Linked DNA regions of Homo sapiens: region 1 is linked to region 2. The links are contacts of gene promoters, found by promoter capture Hi-C in blood cells and fetal thymus (Javierre and others, 2016). All regions are on one chromosome and are shown on one strand. Each heading gives the region's core, a stretch centred on a gene start or on the middle of the fragment in contact. The rest is flanking DNA. Distances are from core to core; before and after follow the strand shown. Region 1 overlaps APTX (aprataxin). Region 2 holds the start of BAG1 (BAG cochaperone 1).

The links. Contacts are between HindIII fragments. The CHiCAGO score rates a contact against its expected background, and 5 or more counts as called.
Region 1: a contact is called between a fragment that was not itself captured here and the fragment with the promoter of BAG1 in region 2, in 1 of 17 cell types (neutrophils). The highest score is 5.4, in neutrophils.

The regions. Positions count from the first base shown.
Region 1 is chr9:32,993,083-32,997,909 of GRCh38, forward strand. The region is part of intron 1 of APTX (aprataxin); the gene reads right to left. Among named protein-coding and RNA genes, the nearest start is that of APTX, 6.1 kb to the right of the region's middle. The HindIII fragment of the contact is 3,608 bases long and covers 1,715-4,827 here.
Region 2 is chr9:33,262,086-33,266,479 of GRCh38, forward strand. It overlaps BAG1 (BAG cochaperone 1), which reads right to left and starts at 2,623. Exons shown (of 7, transcript NM_004323.6): 1 at 2,139-2,623; 2 at 617-745. The coding sequence starts at 2,589. CHMP5 (charged multivesicular body protein 5) reads left to right here and starts at 2,964. Exons shown (of 8, transcript NM_016410.6): 1 at 2,964-3,062; 2 at 3,925-4,029. The coding sequence starts at 2,994. RefSeq lists enhancers at 1,632-1,681, 1,812-2,401, 2,932-3,171 and a silencer at 2,432-2,751. The HindIII fragment of the contact is 24,709 bases long and covers 1-4,394 here.

The DNA of each region.
Region 1 (4,827 bases), core at 2,269-4,768, 270 kb before region 2:
AGAGAACAGATTTTGAGAGCAGGGCAAGAGAGGAATCCAGTGAGCAGCAGAGAGCATGGCTGGCAGATGCAGGATAATAAGAACTACCCTTTCTGCCCTCCATCAATACAGATACTTTATTCCCCCAAAGTTCTCAAGTTATGGTGTTCCTTTTTACTACTTCCTGAGAAGCTGAAGTAGTGACTGCACAACAGTTATGTAACCAACCTTAAATAGTAACTTCACCCGTTTCAGCCTCCAATTCCAACTTTTAGAAATGGAGTGTTTTACAATATGGCAAGTGCAGAAGGATGGGTGTTCCTGAATCTTCAACCCAGTCCCTCCAGTAAAACTCCATAAACTGAAAACTATGACAATAGAGGTCATGTCCATTTTCGCTTATCAATATATCTGTAGCACCTAATCTAACACTTGGCATACAGCGGGCATACAATAAATATTTACAAGTGAATTATCAAATGCTATTTACTCTCTGCATGAGAGTAATAATTATCCCAGTTTTCTTTCCTGCCTTCTCTCTCCCTTCCTTCTATGGCTCTTCTTACGATGGAATGCTCTGTTCCTCTCTTTGGGCAATCCCATCCATTCTCACATCTAGGTGGATAAATCCCAATTCTCTATTTTTCACCTCTATATCTTTTTTTTTTTTTTTTTTTGAGACAGAGTTTTGCTGTTGCCCAGGCTGGAATGCAGTGGCGCAATCTCAGCTCACTGCAAACTCCACCTCATGGGTTCAAGCAATTCTCCTGCCTCAGCCTCCTGAGCAGCTGGGATTACAGGGGTGCATTACCACACCTGACTACTTTTTGTATTTTTAATAGAGACGGGGTTTCACCATGTTGGCCAGGCTGGTCTCGAACTCCTGATGTCAGGCGATCCGCCCACCTCGGCCTCCCAAAGTGCTGGGATTACAGGCGTGAGCCACCGCGCCCGGCCCAGCTCTATATCTTTCATTCTAGAGTTGAGGGGATCCGTCAGAAAGAAATTCTGATTATTCCTTAAAGAACTCAAGTGATCTGATAGACCACACAAGGCCAGAAATCAGGTAACCTCAAATAGTGCTGTCCAATAGAATTTTCTGCAATGACGGAAATGTTCTAAACCTGAACTGTCCAATAAATTACCCACCACGTGACAATCGAGCATCTAAAATGTAGCTAGTACAACAGAGAAACTACATTTTTTACTTAATAGTTAAATAACTCCACGTGGCTGGGGGGCTACCATAATATCCACCACAGTCCTGGAAACTTGCCCTGCCCTGATCCATCTCAAGTCCCTCAGGCCTGAAGTTAAGCTCATCATACTGTAACTCCACAGTGCTTATGTATTTCACCTCCCGTTCCTCTTCACAGAACTAGTCCCACTTGCCCATCCCTCTCTCTCCTCTCTTCCCCAAGAAACACATACATACTGGCATACCTGCTTTGTGCTCTGCTCTATTACATTTGAAAGATATTGCATTTTTTACAAATTGACAGTTTGTGGCAAATCTGTGTCAAGCAAGTCTTTCAGTGCCATTTTTCCAACAGCATGTGCTCACTTCAGGTCTCTGTGTCACATTTTAGTAATTCTCACAATATTTCAAACTTTTTCGTTATTATTATATCTGTTACAATGATCTGTGATCAGTGATCTTTGATCTTTGATGCTACTGGAAGAAAATGCCATCTAGGACTTTCACAGGTAGAGAGAAGTCAATGCCTGACTTCAAAGCTTCAAGGACAGGCTGTCTTGTTAGGGACTAATGCAGATGGAGACTTTAAACTGAAGCCAACGCTCATTTACCATTTCAGAAATCCTAAGGCCCTTAAGAATTATACTCAGTCCACTCTGCCTGTGCTCTATAAATGGAACAACAAAGCCTGGACGACAGCATGACTGACTGAATATTTTAAGATCTCTGTTAAGAACTACTGCTCATAAAAAAAAGATTCCTTTCAAAATATTACTGCTCATTGACAATGCACCCAAGATCCCTGATGGAGATATATTATACAGGGAGATAAATATTGTTTTCGTGCTTGATAAAACAACATCCATTCTGCAGCCCATGGATCAAGGAGTAATTCTGACTTTCAAGTGTTATTAATTAAGAAATACATTTCATAAGGGTATAGCTGCTATCAACTGTGATTCTTCTGATGGACCTGGAAAAAGTAAATTGAAAACCTTCTGAAAAGGATACAACCATTCTAGATGCCCTTAAGAACATCTGTAATTTATGGGAGGAGGTCAAAATATTAACATAAACAGGAGTTTGGAAAAAGTTGATTCCAACCCTTATGGATGACTTTCAGGGGTTCAAGACTTCAATGGAGGAAGTCACTCCCAATATAGCAGAAATAAAGAGAACTAAAATTATAAGTAGAACCTGAAGATGTGACTGAAATGCTGCAATCTCATGATCATACTTTAATGGATGAGGAGTTGCTTCTTATGGATGTGCAAAGAAAACGGTCTCTTGAGATGAAATCTATTCCTGATGAAGATGTAATGAACATTACCAAAACGCCAACAAAGGGCTGGGTGTTATGGCTCACACCTGTAATCCCAGCACTTTGGGAGGCCAAGGCGGGCGGATCACGAGGTCAGGAGATCGAGACCATCCTGGCTAACACGGTGAAACCCAGTCTCTACTAAAAATACAAAAAAATTAGCCGGGCGTGGTGGCGGGCACCTGTAGTCCCAGCTACTCTGGAGACTGAGGCAGGAGAATGGTGTGAATCCGGGAGGCGGAGCTTGCAGTGAACCGAGATCGCGCCACTGCACTCCAGCCTGGGCGACAGAGCGAGTCTCCGTCTCAAAAAAAAAAAAAAAAAGAAATTGCCACAGACATCCAAACCTTCAGCAACTATGACCCTGATCAGTCAGCAGCCACCAACGTCAAGGCAAGACCCCCCCTACATCAGCAAAAAGATCACAACTCACTGAAGGCTCAGGTGACTATTAGCAATTTTTAGCAAAGTACTTTTAATTAAGGTGTGTACATTGTTTGTTCAGCCATAATGCTATTGCACACTTAACAGACTACAGTATAGTATAAACATAACTTTTATATGCACTAAGAAACCAAAACATGCATATGTTCACTTTATTGCAGTTGTCTAGAACCAAACCCACGTCTCTGAGGTATGCCTGTATGTATACCCTTCAAGTATAATATACTGAACAGCATCTCCCAAATAAATCGCTCTTTTTTTTTTTTTTCTGAGACAGGGTCTCACTCTGTTGCCCAGATTGGGTGCAGGGCGTCATCACAGCTCACTGCAGCCTCAACTTCCTTGGGCTAAAGTGGTCCTCCAGCCTCAGCCTCTGGAGTAGCTGGGACTACAGACACACACCACCATGCCTTGCTAATTTATTTTATTTTGAGATGGGGTTCTCACTATGTTGCCTACACTGGTCTGAAACTCCTGGCCTCAAGCAATCCTCCTGTCTTGACCTCCCAAAGTGCACGGATTACAGGTAGGAGCCACACCTGGCCTAAGTCATTCTTAATATGGTCTCCTGGTATTCCTTTCTCCTAAAACCCAAATCCTATTTAACTTTCAAGCCTCACCTCCTCCCTAAAGCCTTCATTGAGCTGTCTTCTCTTCTCTACATCTTATTATTGGATGTGGTCAAACTACCTTCACAGTTCTCTGACTGTTTAATGTGGATGTAATTCTACTTTCCAAACAAGATTATAATCTCCCTGCTAACAGACTGCATCACTGCCTACGCATTCACAAAACAATGAGGAGGGGTTTCGGGAGATCACTGTCCTGGGCCAGGCCTAGTCTTTACTCCAGGATCCCCCGGTTTTCAGCACCTTTATCAAGTGCATACTATGTGCTAGGCACTATGCTAAATGTCTTACTTACATGGTCTCATTTTAACACTCACAACTCCATTCTGAGAAGAGAAAATTCAGGATGAGAAGATAAGTAACATGTTCAAGTCACATAGCCAATATGTGCCAGAACTACAATTTGAATTCCAAAGAATGGGTTCTTAACCACTGCATCATATAACTTTTGGCTTCACTCATTTGATCGTTCAGTCAAAATTACTACACTCCTGTGTATCTTGTGCCATTCTAGTACTGGGAATAAAGAGATAATATATGAGCCCAGCCTTCAAAAAACTCAGCCTTAGCCAGGCATGGTGGCACGTACCTGTAGTCCCTGCTACTTGGGAGACTGAGGTGGAAGGATTGCTTGAGCCTAGGGGTTCAAGTCCAGCTTGGGCAACACAGCAACACCTCATCTAAAAAAAATAAATCTTGTGGAGGAGAAAAACACAAACAATTATGTTAATAGTAGATGTGGTAAACATGATGATTGCTCTGTGCAAAGGGTGGAAGCACAATGCTAGAGTACCCAACCGAGATTGGGAGGAAGGAGGTGTCAGGAAAAAATTTCCTGGAGGAGGTGGACCTAAACTTTATAACTGAGTCCCATTTATAAACTGGGTTAATTAGGTGAAAAGGAGCAGCCTAATTAGGTGAGGAGCAGGAGGTGGAGAAAGGAAACAGGGAGAAGATTCCAAGCAAAGAGAACAAGGGCAAGTACACAAAGAAGAAATAGCACAGTACCCATGAAGATGCCATTCAGTGTTGCTGGAACCTAAAGCATGAGGCAGAGAAGAGGCTGGAGATACAGGCAGGGTTCAGAACAGGCAGAGCCCTGGCTGAGAAGCTCAAACTTTAGAACTTTCAATGGATTTTGCAAGCCAGTAGACAATGAATGTTTGCTGAATGAATTAGAGAAAAGAATGGATGAATGCATGGACAGATCTTTAAAGATTAAGCAGGAATTTGATACAGACTTGTTTCCAAAGACC
Region 2 (4,394 bases), core at 1,373-3,872:
AATGGGAAGATGATCTAACCTAGCGAGGGAAGACTGCCCATGAGCTTCATCGAAAATGGTGAGATTTCTGCCATCATCATAAGACTTCAAATCTGACACCTGTCCAGGTGTTTGAGAGTGTCCAATACCTAGCAGGTCCTCAATAAATATCTGTTGAAGAACTGAATGAATAAACAAATAAATAAAAATTGTCCCAGTTTGAAAACAGAGTGACTATTAGGAAAAGTTCAGCAGTTTTAAAACTGTCCTTTGGCCATAAGGAAAAGCCGGAAAAGAAATGCTTACCCTTGGCCAGGTGCAGTGGCTCACACCTGTAATCCCAGCACTTTGGGAGGCCGAGGCGGGTGGATCACCTGAGATCAGGAGTTCGAGACCAGCCTGGCCAACATGGTGAAACCCTGTCTCTACTAAAAATACAAAAATTAGCCGGGCATGGTGGTATGCACCTGTAATCCCAGCTACTTGAGAGGCTGAGGCAGGAGAATCACTTGAATCCGGGAGGCGGAGGTTGCAGTGAGCCTAGATCGTGCCATTGCACTCCAGCCTGGGCGACAAGAGTGAAACTTCGTCTCAAAAAAAAAAAAAGAAAAAGAAAGAAAGAAAAAGAAATGCTTACCCTTAAATATGAGTTTCTGAAAAGACTGTGGAACCCCTATGACCTCTTCAACAACCTGGGCCAGGTCTTGGACAACTGGTTCACTGCTGCCCTGCTGGGAGGTAACATGAAGGTCGTGCTTCTCATTGCCTGGGGAGAAAGAAAAGCATTTGACGAATATGATTCTTTCACATACACCAATATAGGATGACACTTTATCACATTTATTTACCCAGCCTTCAAGGCCCAGCTCATATGCCACCTACTCCACAGAGCCTGCCCCCATGCCACCCAGCTTTCCTCTGGTGACCTCCTCAAGTATCTCTGTTTCCTCTATTATAATAACTAACAATATGAATGATATCTGCTAACATTTTAAGCATTTCATGCATAATCTAATTTAATCCTCAGATAAACCCCACGAAGTAGATCTACCTATTACTTCTTATTTCACAGATGAGCAAACTGTGACTTCAGGCAAGTTAAGGACTGCCTATGGAGACTCAACTGTTGGAATCAGAAGTTGATATCAGATCTAGCTGATTCCCAAGCCCACCTTTTTCATCACAAGCCATCTGCTTCCTGTGGCTTGACTGCCCTGTACCCTGTATTGTATTGGTCTCGTCTCGCTTGCTGTAATGGGCAAGTGACTGTTTTCCTCCAAGTCTCTCCCACTGAACACACTTGAGTGCATCCATGATTTGTGCTAAGTAAACAGACAAATGCATACGAACAGCAGAGCCTTTCTTTCTGAAGAAGAGACGCCAATTCTTTTCCAGGGATGCGGACAGCAAGGAGGGAGCCTGTGTACAGTACATTACACCAAGGTTTGGTTCCCCCAACAGCTCCGTGAGGTCAGCAGGAGCCAGGGTTACCAAATCTACTTCACAGAGGAGAAACCGGATTCTTAGAAGAAGCCGTCCATCCCAAGGTCACTCAAAACCGCAGGATCTAGAATCCAGGTCTCCAGATTCCCAGACCCTTGGGCCTCCCCTAGCTGGTTCTAGAGAAACCTCATGGACTCAGCTCTCCGGTGTACTGACTTCATTTGGTGGTGTGTCAACTCCAACAGTAGGCAGACCCAAAGGGTGCCCAGAGTACAACGCTTGGACCCACGGCCAACTCAAGCGGCGCACACGGAGAAGGCACTCAGCACACGAGGAGCACCCCGGCATGCACGAAGTTCTGACTTATCACACACGGAGCAGTCGTAGACCACATGGCCCAATATATGCCTGACACAAAGGGCACAATAACTGCGCGGGCACACAAACACAACCAGGCCCACGACGTAAAGCACGGAGAAGCTCAAACACCCAGGATCGCACAAATGACCAGAGACAAAATACACCGGCCACATGGAAAAGTGTACAGACACAAGCCCGGGACAAAAGACAGTTCCACGGACACAACCAATAACCCACGCTTCCGGACGCCAGGACAAGCGCAAGGTCACACGCTTCTGGAGGACACGTGACTAAACCCACAGACCCCGCCGGGCTTTCGGGACCTGCATGGAGCCCACCTGGCGCCCGACACTCACTGTGGGTGACAGTCACGGTGAGCCCAGCTGCCGCCATTTCCTCCCTGGTCACCTCCTCGCTCCGGGTCGACTCCTCGTCCCGGGTCACCTCCTGGCTCCGATTCATCTCTTCGCCCTGGGTCGCCTCCTCACTCTGGGTCGCCTCTTCACTCCAGGTCGCTTCCTCACTCAGGGTCAACTCCTCGCTCCGGGTCAACTCCTCGCTCCGGGTCGAGCGGCGCCGGGTTTTCTTCTTCATCCGCGGCCTGCGAGCGCCGGCGGCGGCGCCCCTGGTGGGTCGGTCATGCCCGCTGGCAGTACTCCGGGCAGGTGGACGCCCAGAGGGAGGCGGACCACGCTGGGCCGGGGGCTCCGACTGGCGCGGCTCCCGGCCTGGCCGAAGGGCGCGCAGCCGGGAACCCAGCCGCTCCCGGTCGCCTCGCGGTCTCCGCGCCCCCCCGCGCTGAGCCAGGCCCGCACTTGTTGACCGCCCAGCGATGGAAGCTGAGCGCGGCGTCTCACAACCCCGCCCGACTACTTCCCAGCCCCGCCCCGGCCTGCCGGCCCCGCCCTCGCCCTATGCCGCGTTAGTTGCCTCCAGGCCCCACCCACTCAACTGAGGCCCCGCCTTGCTACAGTAAAACCCCTCCCACTCCTTCTACCAACACCCCGCCCCCTGCAGGCTCTCTCCGAGAGCACCAAGTCCTTTTGCTCTCCATCCCCGGAAGACCCGGCTGAAAATCCGGAAAAAGAATCGGGAAACGCCAGGAGGCATATTGCGCTTGCGCACGGAGGGGCCGGAAGTCGAGGCGGGAGTGACTCTGCTTCCGTTTCTGGTTTTGCTCTAGTGTTTGGGTTTCTTCGCGGCTGCTCAAGATGAACCGACTCTTCGGGAAAGCGAAACCCAAGGCTCCGCCGCCCAGCCTGACTGACTGCATTGGCACGGTGGGCATTTGATCATGCATAAGTAGGCTCAGGACCTCTGACACACCCGACCCCGCCCACCCCCAGCCCCGGGCCCATATTCTTCCACTTCATTTCGGGTCCTGGGCCCCTTACACGTCGTCCCTCTCTATCTCACCTTCTCCCCTTCATCCCTGTTACCCAAGTCATTCCTAACGCCACAAACCAGGGAACCCCTAACCCCATCACTGCCTTGCCCTGCCAGCACCCAACCCGTTTTGATGCCCATTGCCCGTCCACTCGCTCTCGCCTTGATCCTCTCACCTCACCCAGCCCTAGGCCCATACACCCTTCCCACCTCATCCTGCCTGATCCCTTACCCTTCTTCCATCTGTCATCCCCAGTCCACATCAGGACTCAGCTTGATATCCTAGGTCAACATATCTGTGCCTTCGTCCTGGATCTCAGTAACACAAAACTCAGAACCCTAGCCCCTCAGATTAAGCCACCATCCCCGATTTAGGGAATGGCATTAGATCTACAATCAGCTGGTTTCACTTGGCACTGGCCCATTTCATGTGCCTCTTGGAGGAACTCTCAGCCTGGCTAGTCTCTGATTCTAGGGAAATTCCAACTCAACTCAGTGATTCTCAAATTATTTTCTGCCCCAACCCACTTGAAGGCTACCTGGTATATCAGAATCGGGGCAGTGTGGCGGGGGGTAAGAGAATAATTTATAAAGCCCAGGGTTTCTGGTTGGGAATACCCTTCTTTGTGAACCACTGTTTTTCACCCTTCCCCTTAAGCTCCTCTTTTCTTCCTCTGTATTCCTTCCTCTCTACCTGCCCCTTCTGGAATAAGTGTATTGCAGTAACTACCAGTGCATTTGATATTTTCCCCTAAGGTGGACAGTAGAGCAGAATCCATTGACAAGAAGATTTCTCGATTGGATGCTGAGCTAGTGAAGTATAAGGATCAGATCAAGAAGATGAGAGAGGGTCCTGCAAAGGTAAGGTGGGCAGCAACTGCTGCACAAGGTGCTGGCAGAGCCTAGTTTTAGCACCTATAGAAATAGGGCCTAGTTCGGCTGGGCGCAGTGGCTCATGCATGTAATCCCAGCACTTTGGGAGGCTGAGGCGGGTGGATCACGAGGTCAGGCATTTGAGACTAGCCTGGCCAACATAGCGAAACCCTGTCTCTACTGAAAATACAAAAACTTAGCTGGGCATGGTGGCAGGCGCCTGTAATCCCAGCTACTCAGGAGGCTGAGGCAGGAGAATCGCTTGAACCTGGGAGGCGGAGGTTGCAGTGAGCAGAGACCACACCATAGCACTCTAGCCCAAGTGACAGTGTGAGACTCCGTCTCAAAAAATA